3 separate regions of the Homo sapiens genome follow, and all the other regions are linked to region 2. The links are contacts of gene promoters, found by promoter capture Hi-C in blood cells and fetal thymus (Javierre and others, 2016). All regions are on one chromosome and are shown on one strand. Each heading gives the region's core, a stretch centred on a gene start or on the middle of the fragment in contact. The rest is flanking DNA. Distances are from core to core; before and after follow the strand shown.

Region 1 (3,492 bases), core at 106-2,605, 100 kb before region 2:
GAAAATACCAGATTTTAATTCATTTTGATTGGAGTAATCTGAGAGTGCCTTAGTGGCGGTTCTGTATTCATAGATGAAGAGACTTTTTATAGGAAGAGTGTCAGGTCACCAGGGTAAATTGGCTGTGTTACAGGTGCAGTTATGCCAGCAGCCAGGCAGCAGCAACCCACCAGAGCAAACCTGCAAACCAGGAAGTCATGGAGGAAACCCTCTGGGCAGTCGGCATAGCCTGTGTTCTAGGGCAGAGGCCTTTAGTATTGATTTGTTTTGTTTTTTTTTTTTTTTTCCAATATAATATGTGTTCACCATTCAAAAACAAAAACTTGTCAACATTGAAACAGTTGCATTCATCCCCATCCCACAGCCACCCAGTTAGACCAGTTTCTGATGATGTGTCCCTCCAGAGATATCAGTGCGTGGTCAGTCCATTTTCCTTGTCTTTGCACGAGTGGTAGCACATAACATGCATTGCTTTTTATCTTGCTCATCTCCACGTAGCCAGATATCTTACGAGACATCCGCTTTCCTTCTCTGTAATGACCTTGCCTGTTTTCAGCTATTTACTATCACAATGTGTCATTCATTCTACTGTACATAAAAAGCAAAGTCTCCTACTTTAAATACAGCTTGAATAAGCTTGATTTTTCTGACTTCCCAGCCACAATTGGGCTGAAAGATATAGCTCCATCTAAGTCTTGGGAGGATGATAGGAAAATCAAAAGTTACAGCTTCTATCAAGGAAAGAAACAGTCACTTAAAAAACCAACAGTAGCAACAACAAAAACACTAAAGCCTTACGCACTGGAGCATTGTAGCACCTTTTAACTCACTGGTGAGCAGTACATCCTCCTGAACATCTGGGAAGGAATCATTTACCCAGTGATTATTTATTGAGGACCAGTGGTGTGCCAGGCCCGGCTGATGTGCCTCCGTGAATTAGACAGTGGTGCATTGTTGAGGCGCCAACTGAAAAGCATATTCTCATTAAAAAGACAGAGGTAGGCCAGTTGCAGTGGCTCATACCTGTAATCCCAGCACTTTGGGTGGCTGAAGTGGGCAGATTACTTGAGTTCAGGAGTTCGAGACCAACCTGGGCAACATGGTGAACCCCATCTCTATAAAAAATAAATTTAAAAAAGATGAAAGAAGTGTAACCTTTAGAGAAAAAATTGTATTCAGATAGCCAAAGTGATTTAAGTTTGGTTTGCTTTCAAGAGGTAATCCCCATAGAGCTCTGGTAAGCTGGGTTTTTTTGTTGTTACTGTTTTTGAGGTGGAGTCTCACTCTGTTGCCCAGGCTGGAGTGCAGTGGCACAATACTGGCTCACTGCAACCTCCGCCTCCTGGGTTCAAGTGTTTCTCCTGTCTCAGCCTTCCGAGTAGCTGGGATTACAGCTGCGTGCCACTACACCCAGCTAATTTTTATATTTTCAGTAGAGACGAGATTTCACCATGTTGGCCAGGCTGGTCTCAAACTCCTAACCTCAGGTGATCTGCCTGCCTCGGCCTCCCAAAGTGCTAGGATTACAGGTGTGAGCCACCGTGCCCAGCCAAGCTGGTTTTTTATGGCTGTTTTTTGATGTAACAGGATGCTTCTCCAGCAATAAGTTGATTCCTTAAATAGATTAACATTTCTTGGATTTACCATCCTATTCATACTGTCAGTTCATTTAGCCATTTTAATGTTTCGAAGATGGTTGTAAAGAGGAAAATTTTAGTATCTCAAATGCTTTAAAGTGAGTGGAATTTTGACTGTACAGTTCCTTCTAGCAGAAATCAGTAAACCTTGTAAGATGCTTCAACAAAAAATGGGGTTGATTCCTTGGCACTTCACAGACATCCTCACCTTTCTGTTCCCTCAGAATCGGGTTCCTGTGAGGCTGGGTAGTGGGAGGCAGGGATGGAGGTAGCAGGATGGCGTGGGTGGGATTAGCAAGTCTCGGAGTCTGTTGTCCCATCTCAAGGGGTTCCATAAAAATCACCTTTTTGGTCCTATATTGGGAACTTGTGTGGTTCTCAGCTTCTGACCAGAAGCTCCTAGGAAGAACTGGCTGGTCACGACTCCTTAAGCTTCATCCTTGATACTGGTTGTGTCATCTCAGACCCACGGGTTAGTATGGTAGCTTCACTGGCTTTTGGGGCTGGGTCTGACTTTGCATCTGATTGCTCTGGCCTGTCATTAGCATCCCTGTAAGGAGAGGGAACGGAGTCAGTTCAGGGATATTCTTGCCAGAAAATCTGGGGTCGAAATCTCCTTCCACTTTTCCTCCCAGCAGATTGGACTCATTGGCGCTCTCATGTTGAATTTCAAACTTTAAGATGAGTTGGTCACTGGAAAGGAGTTTGCTGGCTCACACCTGTAATCCCAGCACTTTGGGAGGCCAAGGCAGGTGGATCACTGGAGGCCAGAAGTTCAAGACCAGCCTGGCCAACACAGGGAAACCCCGTCTCTACTAGAAACATAAAAATTAGCTGGGTGTGGTGGTGCATACCTGTAGTCCCAGCAACTCGGGAGATAGAGGCAGAATTGCTTGAACCTGGGAGGTGGAGGCGGAGGTCGCAGTTAGCTAAGATCGTGCCACTGCACTTCATCCTAGGTGACAAAATGAGACTCTGTCTCAAAAAGGAAAAAAAAAAGGCCAGGTGTGGTGGCTCACGCCTGTAATCCCAGCACTTGGGAGGCTGAGGCAGGAGAATCACTTGAACCTAGGAGGCGAGGTTGCCGTGAGCCAACATCGCCCCATTGCACTCCAGCCTGGGCAACAAGAGTGAAACTCCGTCTCAAAAAAAAAAAAAAAAAAAAAAGGAATTTGCCTAACTCCTCTAGTTGGAGCTGTGCCAGGGAGACCAGCTTCTGTATCTCCATTCATCATCTCACTTAGCCATGGTGGCATGCCTGATAGTGGTTCGCTGCCTGACATCTGCAGGCCGATGATCCCAGGTCTGTGTTTTTGCACAGACCCCATTATCACAACTACCAGCAGCACACTCAAAGTCCAGGTAGCTGGTGGAGGGTTAGTAACATTATTTTTATGTGCAAAGGTTAACACTTGCTGTTAGTGAATATTCTCTAGCTTTCTATGAAGAAAACAACCTGAAGCTTGTGAGATAGCTGGGTTTCTGTATCCTTAACCTGACCTACTTTTTCTGAAGGTTATGCTGTGAAACCTGTATCACAGGCTAAAACATGTAAACTAACTGATACCTTGTAAAGCCTATAAAATTATTTTGTGCTTGGATTCTATAAGCTGCATGCCATTCAGGGAAGCCATAGAAAGCCAGCTGCAGCAGATTTGTTCAGGTTAGTGTGACAGATCAGAAACCCCAGAATTGACAGCTGACTACTTTCACTTTCATGTGTTACACATTGATGGTTGAAATTAAAAATTACATATCGGAGGTGTATGTTCTTCTACCTTTAATCTCAAGCATCTTGTTTCTATTTTTTTTTTTTTTTGAGACATCATAAAACAGCATGCCATCTTGTTTTTAA
Region 2 (3,505 bases), core at 160-2,659:
GGCTGACAGTTTGGAGTCACTAAGTGATTTTTTTTTTTTTTTGGAGTCACTACTCTGACCAGCCCCTGCATTTATATCTTAGAGTCTTAAAGGAGATGGTCCTGTTATTCAGGGGGCTGGGGAGCTTGAGCTTGAGAGCTGGGGGGTGAGGGTCCTCTAGAGCCAGTGTCAGGAGAACTCTGCAGCTCGAGAGGCCGCTGTGGCTTTGGCCCTGCAGTCAGTGCCCGTTCATCCCCAATCAGGGCAGCGGCAGGAGATGTGAATTGGGGGCTGCTTGCTTCCTCTGTACTTCTGGGAATAGGGCAGGTGCTTGGTGCACTCTGAACTGGGAGCAGCGGGTTGGGGACGCATCTGGTGCACACAGCCAGCGGGTGTTTTTTGTAACTAGAGCTCTGTTCCGCAATTCAGGGCACAGTATTTCTTAGGGCAACAGAATCGTCGGGATGAAGAGGGCCTCCAGAGACTCTGATAAACCCTTCAGGCGGACAAGACAATAGGGGAGGGAACGGCATTACCGGCAGAAGGAAGAGCATGTACAGTAGCTCAAAGGAATGAACCGCCCAACAGGTTTAAGGGAAGAAAGTGTCAGTTGCTGGACTCTCCGGTGAAAACGGACCAGACAATGCAGGGCCCTGAACGCCAAGTTGAGGAGCTCAGAGCATCCAGAAGGCGAAGGGGAGGCTCGGAGCCGCCTCTGAATAACGGCCTTCCGGCTCCGTCTCGGGGTGGGTTTCTCAGCTGCAGCCTGTTAGCCCCGCCACAGCCCCGCCCCGGTTCTCAGAGCCCCGCCCCCAGCCGGCCTGCCACGAGGCTGCCGGTTGTTATGGCAACCAGACGCCAACAGCCTCCCGGGTCGAGCTTTTAAATTTTAAAGCTGTGGAAGTGGAAAGCCCATCGCTCCTCCTCTCACCCACCCCCAGCCCGTATTTCCCCGCGTTTTGTTCAACTCCCTGCAGGCGCAGCAGGCCCGAGGCCCCTCACCTCAGGCCTCTGCCTCCACTCCCCGCGCTGTCCTGACAGCGCTATAAACAGCCTCCAGCGCGTCACTCCGCTCGCGTCCGCCCCTCGGGCCGCGCCGCAGGTACAGAGGCTGTCCCCTTCTTCAGCACTCTCCCTCTCAGCGGAGCTTTACATTACTAGACTGCCTCCGCCTTCCCCCCACCCCGCCCAGCTCCTCTTTCGGGCCTTTGCGCGTCCTGCCTCTCCTGCAATGGGATTGGTTCCCCTGGAGGGCGGGGACGGAGCAGGACAAACACCACTAGCTCATTGGCTACCGCGGGCATCAGACAGCGAGCCGGGAAGCTGACCGGAAGGTCCGGGTGCGGGACGTGTGCATTCCACGGCGCCCGGGAGCTGTCCCGGTGCCGACCCGCGAGCTTCCCGGCGTGCTCCGCGCCCTCCCGCAACTACTTCCGGGGCGGGTGCCGGGGGCGGTGCCCCGGCGAGGGAGCGTGGCGGCGAGCTGTTTGGGGGGGGTTGGCGACGGCAGCCCGAGGGCGGCGCAAGGCCTGAGGCCCAGCACAGGTGGGTTCCGCGGCGGCCCGGCCCCAGCACTTGCCGGCACCTGCAGCCCGCCTAGACCCGGCGCTCGGGCGTCCCGCGCTGCACTTGCTCGCCGCGTGACTGGAGGACCGAGCCCCCACATTTTCTTTATGTGGTTGTGGTGGGGGCACAGTAATGCCCTGTGCGCCGTAGCGTTCCTGTGGGGATGTGGCCGGGGGGCGTCGGGAAGCGTCACTGCTGTGAGTTACGGGTTTGTCGGCCAGGGACCCGCCCCGGGGCCAGTGAGCTACCTTTGCGATGCGGTTCCACGGGGCGAGAGGGGGTGCCTGGGTGCTTTCACAGACCTCCTCTGTGGGCGTGACAGTTACCACCAGCATCACATTTGTTAAGATTTTTAAAAATTTTTTAATTTTTGTGGGTACGTAGTAGGTGTATATATTTATGGCGTATATGAGAGATTTTGATACAGGCATGCAGTTCGTAATAATCACATGTAAAATGGGGGTCTCCATCCCTTCAAGCATTTATCCTTTGTGTTACAAACAATATGATTATACTCTTTGAATTATTTTTAAATGTGCAGCCGGGCGCGGTGGCTCACTCACGCCTGTAATCCTAGCACTTTGGGAGGCAAAGGCGGGCGGATCACCTGAAGTCAAGGATTTGAGACCAGCCTGGCCAACATGGGGACACTTCGTCTCTACTAAACATACGAAAACTAGGCTGGCATGGTGGCTCATACCTGTAATCTCAGCTACTCGGGAAGCTGAGGCAGGAGAATCGCTTGAACCCAGGAGGCGGAGGTTGCATTGAGCCGAGATCACGCCGCTGCACTCTAGCCTGGGTAACAGAGTGAGATTATGTCTCAAAAAAAATAATAATAAATAAATAAAATGTGCAATTAGATTATATTGACTATAGTCACCCTGTTGTGCGGTCAAATACTAGATCTTTTTTTTTTTTTTTTTTTTTTTGAGACGGAGTCTCGCTTTGTCGCCCAGGCTGGAGTGCAGTGGCTTGATCAAATACTAGATCTTATTCATTCTGTTTTTTTTGTATCCATTAAGCATCCCCACCCTCCACTACCCTTCCCAGCCTTGGTTACACTAGAAGTAACCATCCTTCTACTTTCTATGTCCATGAGTTCAGTTGTTTTGATTTTTAGATAACCACAAATAATTGAGAACATGCAATATTTATCTTTCTGTGCCTGGCTTATTTCACTAAACATAACGATCTCCGCTTCCATCCATGTTTTTGCAAATGATAGGATCTCATTCTTTTTTTATGGCTGAATAGTACTCCATTGTGTCTAAGTACCACATTTTCTTTAGGATTCACTGTAAAGGTAACAGATACTTAGCATTTTCAGAATGGACAGAACCAAAAAGTTGAATGAAAACTAAAACGTCTTATCTCTAATGCTACTTTACACCACACCACTCGGGATGGGACATTTTAGTTTTCACTTTAGTGTTTTTTTTTTGTTTTTTTTTTTGAGACAGAATTTCGCTCTGTTGCCCAGGCTGGAGTGCAGTGGCTTGAGCTCGGCTCACTGCAATCGCCTCCCAGGCTCAAGCGATTCTCTTGCCTCAGCCTCCTGAGTACTGAGACTACAGGCGCCCACCACCACACCCAGCTAATTTTTGTAATTTTAGTAAAGATGGGAGTTCACCATTTTGGCCAGGGTGGTCTCGAACTCCTGGCCTCAAGTGGTCCGTCACGCTTGGTCTGGTTCTCATTGTCCTTCAGACCTCTGGGGATGTCAGATATGCAAGTCTCCAGTAAATAGAGAACACGGCCTCACCCTGCAGGAGGCCTTTGGCGTGGAAGAGACATGCCCAGTGAAGGCTTGAGGGAGGTATGGAAGGGACTCTGAACTGACCCTCAGCTCGTTTGGTTTCTTATCCAGGCTTCGTTGGCCAGGGCTGTTAGGGTGGGATTCTCACCTGCAAAGTGAGGGAAGGGCACTGCACGATCTTGGGCTCTGCTAGCTGAAGAG
Region 3 (3,233 bases), core at 708-3,207, 84 kb before region 2:
GTTTCCAGTTTGTACCTTTCACATGGTCTTCCCCAGACTAAAAACAGTGCATCTTTTACATGATATTTTTGTACTGTTTAAATCACTAATGCTACCAGTTATTTTTGGTGAACTTGTCTCTGTAGAGTGGAGGAGATAAGGGCATATTAGGTGCAAACAAAGGGGAGGAGGATTGTGTTAAAAAAATAAAAATAAAAAAATGATCAGGATAGGGTGAGGACAGAGTCCTGATGTTTTTACCCAACACATTTATTGGCCCATTAGTCAAACTTTTAATAAAAGAGTATGAAGCCAGCATCAAAACCAACCAGTTTTGTTGTTGCCCAACCCACCTTAATCCACATTTCCATTTTGTCTGAGACACAGTGTGAAGGACTCTCAGTTGCCATATTAAAAATCCAGAACCTTGACCTGGGCATGGTGGCTCATGGCTGTTATCCCAGCACTTTGGGAGGCCAAGGTGGGCGGATTACCTGAGGTCAGGAGTTCAAGACCAGCCTGGCCAACATGGTGAAACCCTGTCTCTACAAAAATTAGCCAGGCATGATGGTGGGTGCCTTTAATCCCAGCTACTTGGGAGGCTGAGGTGGGAGAATCGCTTGAACCCGGGAGGTGGAGGTTGCAGTGAGCCAAGATCGCACCACTGCACTCCAGCCTGGGCAACAGAACGAGACTGTGTCTCAAAAAAATCCAGAAGCTTTATCCCAGGTCTACTGGACTTCCTAGAACACCAAGAAAGGAAAGGGAATTCGCCTGTCATGATTTAGAATCATGGGGGAATATTGTACTACCCAAATAATGAGTGACAAAAAGGTACCTCCTTGTTTTTAAGCCACAACTTGAAGCAGTTAGCAAGGAGGTCTATTTTGGTGAGAAAGTTGGTGGGTTCCATTTTCAACATGTGATTCAAATTACTTAATACAGGCTGGGACAGGGAGAATGTGAGCAGCTGATATTCCAGCTGAGATTAGGGGTCCATTTGTAGAGATGGTTCCAGAAGACCAAAACTATGGAAAGAATGACAGGGTCAAAGTGGAGGAGCTGCCGGGGACATCCAGCAGTCAGAGAATTTCTGAATTGAAAACATGGCCAAGCGCAGTAGCTCATCCTTGTAATCCCCACACTTTGGGAGACCAAAGCAGAAGGATCCCTTGAGGCCAGGAGTTCATGACCAGCCTAGGAAATACAGCAAGACCCCGTCTCTACAAAAAAATTTTAAAACTTAGCCAGACATGGTGGCATGCACCTATAGTCCTAGCTGCTCAGGTGGACTGAGGTGGAAGGATCACTTGAGCCCAGGAGTTTGAGGCTGCGGTGAGCTATGATCACCCCCCTGCACTCCAGCCTGGGAGACAGCATAATGCTGTCACTAAAAAAAGAAAAAAGGCTGGGTGCAGTGGCTCACGCCCATAATCCTAACACTTTGGGAGGCTGAGGTGAGAGGATTGCCTGATACCAAAAGTTCGAGACCAGCCTAGCCAACATAGCAAGACCCCCCCATCTCTCTTTTTAAATAAATAAATAAATAAAAATTAAAAACTATAAAAACAAGAACATGATATGATCAGAAATGAGGAAAGGCATTCTTTTGCACCATTGTCACTTGCAAAGAGAGGTGAAGAAGTACAAGAATCAAGAAAAGACACTTTGGCAAGCTAAAAGTCATCCGTAAAAGCATGTTGAAATAGCAGCAGTGGCATCCAGCCCCCAGCTCTCAGGGTTGCAGGAAGGAGCAGGCGGAGTATGTGAATGTGTGTGGAGGAGACTGGCCAATGAGTGCTTCTGTCACAAGGATTGGGAAGGACCTGTGGAAGGAAGGGCTGGGGGAACAGTGAGAGGTTTGGGGGAAGGCAGGCATGGGGAGAAGGATTTGTGGACTGGGAAAGATTGGGTTCCAAGCTCAGGTGAAGGACTTAGCTTTGGAGAGGAGAGGCAAGGCCCATTCTGTTGATAACGGGAAGACGGGAAAGGTAGGGTGTGGGTAGAGAATTGAAGTTGGGAAAGAGAGGTGAAAATTGCCGTCCTGGTTCATGCAGTCAAGGAAGTTGCCTGGCTCTAAACACAGTGCTTCAGTGACTTGTGGTGGATTCTGTTGGGCTTTAAAGTAGTATCCAGAGCCGGGTGCAGTGGTTCACACCTGCAACCCCAGCACTTTGGGAGGCTGAGGTGGGCGGATCCCTTAAGCCCAGGAGTCCAAGACCAGCCTGGGTAACATGGCAAAAGCCCATCTCCACAAAAAATTAGGTGTGCTGACAGATGCCTGTAGTCTCAGCTACCCAGGAGGCTGAGGGGGAAGGATTACTTGAGCCCAGGAGGTCGAGGCTGCAGTGAGCCATGATTGCACCACTACACTGCAGCCTGGGCAACAGAACAAGACACTATCTCAAAAAATAAGTAAAGTGTGAGGCCGGGCATGGTGGCTCACGCCTGTAATCCGAGCACTTTGGGAGGCCGAGGTGGGCAGATCACGAGGTCAGGAGTTTGAGACCAGCCTGGCCAACATGGTGAAACCCTGTCTCTACTAAAAATACAAAAATTAGCTGGGCATGGTGGCGTGCGCCTGTAATCCCAGCTACTCAGAAAGCTGAGGCAGGAGAATCGCTTGAACCCAGGATGCAGAGGTTGCAGTGAGCTGAGCTCGCGCCATTGCACTCCAGCCTGGAACAGAGCAAGACTGTCTCAAAAAAAAAAAAAAGGGCAGCAAGGGGACTTTGCCCTGGGAGACTGGCCCTGAACCATACACATCATACTTTTTTCTGTGACAGTCAGGGGTTTCAAAATGCCTGTTTACATCCTGGGACAGCTTTAGACCATGGCATAAGAGAAGACCCATGTGCATGACGCCCCTGGCTCTGCAGGTAGATTGGCCACTGCTGTTTCTGGCAGTCTGAATTCCCCTACCCCAAGCTGTATAAGGGAGCGAGCCTTGTGCTGCATGGAATCATCATCACCGTGACCCTCCCTTTCCACCCTGAACTCATCAGTCTCTCTCTGTTTCAGGATAGGATTTTTGGGCCTTGGTCTCATGGGAAGTGGAATCGTCTCCAACTTGCTAAAAATGGGTCACACAGTGACTGTCTGGAACCGCACTGCAGAGAAAGTAAGCATTCAGGGGTGGTGCCTGTTGGATCGGTGGAGTCTGGGGTAACCCTAAGAGTGGACATCTCCCCCTGTTGTCTCAGCGTTCTGCGTGCAATAGAATAGAAGCCAAGCTTTTAGTCCAGGCAGGTAGA

Evidence for each region. Contacts are between HindIII fragments. The CHiCAGO score rates a contact against its expected background, and 5 or more counts as called.
Region 1: a contact is called between a fragment that was not itself captured here and the fragment with the promoter of ANKS3 in region 2, in 2 of 17 cell types (megakaryocytes and M1 macrophages). The highest score is 5.6, in megakaryocytes.
Region 3: a contact is called between a fragment that was not itself captured here and the fragment with the promoter of ANKS3 in region 2, in 1 of 17 cell types (M1 macrophages). The highest score is 5.4, in M1 macrophages.

What each region holds. Positions count from the first base shown.
Region 1 is chr16:4,833,608-4,837,099 of GRCh38, reverse strand. All of the region lies in intron 3 of GLYR1 (glyoxylate reductase 1 homolog), which reads left to right. Among named protein-coding and RNA genes, the nearest start is that of GLYR1, 12 kb to the left of the region's middle. The HindIII fragment of the contact is 1,433 bases long and covers 639-2,071 here.
Region 2 is chr16:4,732,175-4,735,679 of GRCh38, reverse strand. ANKS3 (ankyrin repeat and sterile alpha motif domain containing 3) reads left to right here and starts at 1,409. Exons shown (of 18, transcript NM_133450.4): 1 at 1,409-1,742. DNAAF8 (dynein axonemal assembly factor 8) reads right to left here and starts at 1,143. Exons shown (of 10, transcript NM_139170.3): 1 at 982-1,143. RefSeq lists silencers at 1,284-1,513, 1,564-1,623. The HindIII fragment of the contact is 25,292 bases long and covers 1-3,505 here.
Region 3 is chr16:4,817,465-4,820,697 of GRCh38, reverse strand. GLYR1 (glyoxylate reductase 1 homolog) reads left to right here. Exons shown (of 16, transcript NM_032569.4): 10 at 3,001-3,100. Among named protein-coding and RNA genes, the nearest start is that of ROGDI, 16 kb to the right of the region's middle. The HindIII fragment of the contact is 2,515 bases long and covers 700-3,214 here.